2 separate regions of the Homo sapiens genome follow, and region 2 is linked to region 1. Evidence: promoter capture Hi-C in 16 types of primary human blood cells and fetal thymus (Javierre and others, 2016). All regions are on one chromosome and are shown on one strand. The core of a region is centred on a gene start or on the middle of the fragment in contact, and the rest is flanking DNA. Distances in the headings are between cores, read along the strand shown.

Region 1 (2,700 bases), core at 23-2,522:
GCAAGATGGCTAGGTGTTAGCCATCTTGCGGAGATGGTATATCTCCACAAAAAATGCAAAAAATGTGTCGGATGTGGTGGAGCATGCCTGTAGTTCCAGCTACCTGGGAGGTTAAGGTGGGAGGATCACTTGAGCCCAAGGTTGCAGTGAGCCATGATCACACCACTGCACTCCAGCCTGTGTCACAGTGAGACCACGTCTCAAAAAAAAAGAGGTACCACATTCTAGACTTCTAGACTACTTGTCTTTCCCTGAATATGCAGTTAGTTTGCCAGTTTGTCTTCATATCACGAAGTTACTTAGTTACCTTTTTCAGATTTTTCTTTCCCTTATAACTCAGTTATAGTTCAAGGAAGCAAAATTAGATTGTTTCCGTTGGACAATGAATCTTAAGCAAGTTTCTCTTGCAGATTTTACCACACTATGTAGTTATGTATCTACTGGTCATTTATTCTGTAGTTTCGATTCCTCGATGGTCTGCTTAAATCAATTTTGTGCCCCAGGGCCTTGATAACATGTTTAAATTAGTTATTAATTACAAAGACCTATTATGATACAATTCTTTCCCCAATTAAAAACAAAACTAGGCCGGGCGTGGTAGCTCACGCCTGTAATCCCAGCACTTCATCCTGGCCAACATGGTGAAATCCCGTCTCTACTAAAAATAAAAAAATTAACTGGGCGTGGTGGCGGGCGCCTGTAGTCCCAGCTACTCAGGAGGCAGAGCCAGGAGAATCGCTTGAACCTGGGAGGCGGAGGTTGCGGTGAGCCGAGATCGCGCTGCTGCACTCCAACCTAGCGACAGAGCGAGACTCCGTCTCAAAACAAACAAAAACTAGCAGGCTTTTGTGACTACAAACAAGCTGGTTGCATGCTGCACTGCCTTTGGGTAAGAGTGGAACTCCAACTAAGAAAGTACATCTGGTAAACATAAGGGATTCACCCAGACTTGTCCTAAATAAGACTCCGATTACCCGAACTGAATCAGGAGTCCTTTAGAGCGACTCTAGCTAAGAAGGCCTGTTAGGCCCTGCACTAAGAGTTTCAGGTGGGAAAATTGCGCCATCCAGTTATAGGCCGTACAGCGGGAACTCCATGAACAACCTGGGTAACCTAATCCCTGAATAAGACTCCTTCCAGGTACCAGTGGGCTGAGGGCGGCAGGGCGACGCGCTGACGTCACGTCACGTTCCTTTGCACGTCCCCGCCTCCCCGCCCCTCTCCGCACTGTGACGTTCCCAGAGAGGAACGAAGCGTAAACAGCGCAGGGCATTTCGGGAGCGGGATTGTTTCGCGCAGGAAGCAGGCTCCATTTTAGCGCCGCCCGCCGTCGCCATCTGTTTCCCTTCCCTCCCCCATACCTAGCCCGAGTCTGAGCCCTAACGAGAAGGCTGGGCCTAGGCCGCTGGATGCTGGAGTGAAAGGAAGGGAGAAAGGGAAAAAGCGGGAAGAGTCGAGAAGGCTGAGTGTTAAGAGGCCAAGTGCGACGCGCGTATCCGGGCAGACGGACTGACGGACGGGCCCGTGCTTCTGCCGCGGCTGCGGCGCCCGCGCGAGTCGCGTCTAAGCGGCGGCGGCGGTGGCAGCGGCGGAAACCGAAGGGGAGCCATGGCGGCTGACAGTCGGGAGGAGAAAGGTTAGTGCGGAGAAAGATGACGGGCCGAGGCGAGGCTGGGGCCCGGGAGTGGGGTGATGGAGCAGTGGTCGTCGTTGGGGGTGGGGGGTGGGGGTTGGGGAGGTTAGCTGGCCTCGCGAGGAGCCGGTGGCCCCCACCGAGACACTTAGACTCTGGCGGAGACCAGGCCTGCCCTTTCGTCCTCAGTCTCCATATGGCCTAGCACTTCATCTCAGTAGGGTTTTTCTTTGATGCGGATTTCACGCTTGACTTTCCGTTTAGCTGTCTTGGGCTGAGAGGGGCCCTTTCTGAGTTGCAAGCTCCTAGGTTTATTTCCTGGTAGGATCATGCGGATGTAACGCGTATTTTCAGGACAACCATTTCTGTTAGGCTAAAATTTGAAAACCCCTAATGCCGCGATCAACACTGGTGGTGTGGTAAGTGAGCAAGTTTAGGAAGTGGCACTGGCAGGTTATTAATCTTGAGAAATATCTGCAAATAACTTCTGGCTGTTCCTGTTAAATAGGCAAAGTGAATTACCCGTTTTGTTCCTCGAATACTTATTTTGGAAAAACATAGTACTTGGAAAAAGGAATACTTAGTTTGGAAAGATGACTGTGTGACTTAGGCTGGCAAAGAAATCCTGGGTGCTATTATGTTAGAAAAACCGTGTGTAGCTCCCAGAGGGTACAGTCAGAAACAAATGAATGCAAGTTACAGAGAGTTGGAGGGATAAATTTCAGTGAAATGTAGAGAGAACTGACGTTGCTGTAATGGAAAGATAGTAATACTAAGTTCCCAAGCCCTAGAGATATTAATGTAGGTCCTAGATCAGTGTCTCTCTGGAGAGTGGTCTAGATTAAATGCTGCTTTAAGATCTTTTTCAACCCTAAGATTAACATAATAGTCTTGGAAAGATTATAGTTAAAAATATGACACGGTCGCTGCTCTGTGTCTCACACATCTCTTCTGTGTGCCTAATTGATTTGGGGTTTTTTTGTCGGGGGTTGTTAAGTGGGCTCTAGAGTCAAGTTACATTAGGCGTGTAATCCTTTTTTCTTAATTTTTCTGGTTTCTGCATCAGG
Region 2 (2,700 bases), core at 137-2,636, 4.7 Mb before region 1:
GCAATCCTCCCACCTCAGCCTCCCAAGTAACTGGAACTACAAACACGCACCACCAAACTTGGCTAATTTTTTTTTTTTTTTAATTTTTTGTAGAGGCAGTCTATCCTGGCCTTGAACTCTGGGTTCAAGCAGTCCTCTCACTTTGGCCCCCCAAAGTGAGATTCATGCCTGGGATTATAGGCATGAACCACCACACCCAGCCAGGAACTTTTTTTTTTTTTTTTTGAGGTGGGGTCTCGATGTGTTGCCCAGACCAGTCTTGAATGCCTGGCCATAAGCAGTCCTCCCACCTTGGCCTCCCAAAGTGCTGGGATTACAGATGTGGGCCACCACTCCCAGCCGGGATTTTTTTAATTATCTAAAATAGTTTTGAATATATTTAGGGCCTTTTAGAATTTTAAGGTATCTCTATTTCTTGCAGGAGTAACTATTATAAATTATGATGACCTTCTACATTATAGGTATTGTCAATATGGACTCGCCATATGGTTCTGTAACACCTTCTTCAACACATTTGGGAAACTTTGCTTCAAACATTTCAGGAGGTCAGATGTACGGACCTGGGGCACCCCTTGGAGGAGCACCCGCAGCTGCTAACTTTAACAGACAACATTTTTCCCCGCTTAGTTTGTTGACTCCGTGTTCATCAGCATCAAATGGTGAGTTTTATACACCGTAATTCCATAAGAATCTGCATATGTTTTCTTAAAAACAGCAGGTTTCAAACCTCATCATAATTTTAATACCATAAAAAGGTAATTTGTACTCTTAGAAGTCTGGAATTTCAAAAAAATTTCTAGGTATTTAAATGATTAGAATCAACCTAGGTTCTATCAAACCTAAAATATTGAAGTTTTTCTAAGAGGGATTTTTATTATTTTTTATTTTTATTAGAGACAGGCTCTCACTGTGTTGCCCTCGCTGGTTTCGTCAAACTCCTGGGCTGAAGCAGTCTTCCTGCCTTCCAAAGAGCTGGGATTACAGGTGTGAGCCACCACACCTGTCCTGAGGGATCATTTTTTGGGGGAAAAAAATTAATCCTTGTACCTGTTATTAATTTATGTTTACTTTTAGTTTTGAGAATACAGGTACCAAGGAGAAAGATTTCTACCCTTGAGTGAAAATTACATCCTTTTAGTCCACCTTTAAATCTCATCTAGGCTGGGCACAGTGGCATACACCTGTAATCCTAGCACTTTGGTAGGCCAAGGCGGGTGGATCACCTGAGGTCAGGAGTTCAAGACCAGCTCGGCCAACATGGCAAAACCCTGCCTCTACTAAAAATACAAAAATTAGCCAGGCGTTGTGGTGTGCACCTGTGATCCCAGCTACTTGGGAGGCTGAGGCAGGAGAATTGCTTGAACCCAGGAGGCGGAGGTTGCAGTGAGCCGAGATCACACCACTGCACTCCAGCCTGGGCAACAGAGCAAGACTTCATCTCAAAAAAAAAAAAAAATCTCATCTGCATTAACAACACAACAGATTTCACATTATCACATGTGTTTTTTAACTACAGGCAGACTTTTGAAGCAGTGATTAGATTTTCTTTCTTTCTTTTTTTTATTTGAAATGGAGTCTCACTCTGTCACCCAGGCTGTAGTGCAATGGCTCAAGCGATTCTCCCACCTCAGCCTCCTGAATAAATGGGACTACAGGCATGTGCTACCACACCTGGCTAATTTTTGTATTTTTAGTAGAGACAGTTTCACTACATTGGCCAGGCTGGTCTCAAACTCCTGATCTCATGATCTGCCCACCTCGGCTTCCCAAACTGCTGGGATTACAGGTGTGAGCCACCAGGCCTAGATTTTCAAACTAATGAAGATCAGTCAGCAATAGAGAATTCAACTCAACTAAGAGAATTCTGTAGTAAGGTTGGATATGTTTGTTTTCCAGGTAAAGATGTGAAATTGCTTATCCCTTAAGGAAGTTATAGTAAGACTTCGGTTTTTTTTTTTTTGTTTTGTTTTTTTTTTTAACTATCAAATTTCTTCTAACTAGCAATACTGGAATAAATAACAGTTAACCTAATTAACTTAATGAAAGAGTAAAGAGTTATAATTATTTTAGAGATACATGTCAGAGTACATTGCCAGTTAAAGCATGAGGTAAATTGTAGCCTGCAATGAATTTATATATTCATAGTTTTTCTTGTGTTTGTCAAATAGTGGCAGTCATATAGAATATTAATTATCCTTGCACAGCTCCCAAAGTGCTGGAATTACAGGCGTGTACCACCACACCACCCAGGTTAGGTTTTTTAATACATGCTTTTGAATATAGTGCTATATTGTAAATACAGAGTATCATTGAGGGCATTACAATTGCTTTTATTGTTGCCACATTCCAGTAACTATTTTGTTACAAAAAATTTCAGACCCATAGAAAAGTTAAAGAATAGTTCAAGGAATATCCATATTTCCTTCGCCTAAATTTCCCAATTATTTTGTTATATTTATTTTCTCTCTCTACTGTTTTGCTGAACCATTTGTAAATAAGGTGCAGATATGACACTTCAGACCTAAAAACATGCATCACTTAAGAATAAGGATATTTTCTTATGCAACCATGATACCATTGTCAAATACCTAATAGGTTAACATGAATTCAGTAAGAATTAATCAGTCCATATTCAGATATCTTCAATTATTCCAAAACGTTTTTTATAGATGTTTCTTTCTTGAACCAGGAACTACCACT

Evidence for each region. Contacts are between HindIII fragments. The CHiCAGO score rates a contact against its expected background, and 5 or more counts as called.
Region 2: a fragment that was not itself captured here is called in contact with the fragment with the promoter of YTHDC1 in region 1 in 1 of 17 cell types (total B cells); the score reaches 7.4 in total B cells.

Annotation. Positions count from the first base shown.
Region 1 is chr4:68,348,662-68,351,361 of GRCh38, reverse strand. YTHDC1 (YTH N6-methyladenosine RNA binding protein C1) reads left to right here and starts at 1,272. Exons shown (of 17, transcript NM_001031732.4): 1 at 1,272-1,636. The coding sequence starts at 1,609. RefSeq lists an enhancer at 1,324-1,903. The HindIII fragment of the contact is 7,711 bases long and covers 1-2,700 here.
Region 2 is chr4:73,083,208-73,085,907 of GRCh38, reverse strand. ANKRD17 (ankyrin repeat domain 17) reads left to right here. Exons shown (of 34, transcript NM_032217.5): 30 at 462-659. Among named protein-coding and RNA genes, the nearest start is that of COX18, 15 kb to the right of the region's middle. The HindIII fragment of the contact is 7,936 bases long and covers 1-2,700 here.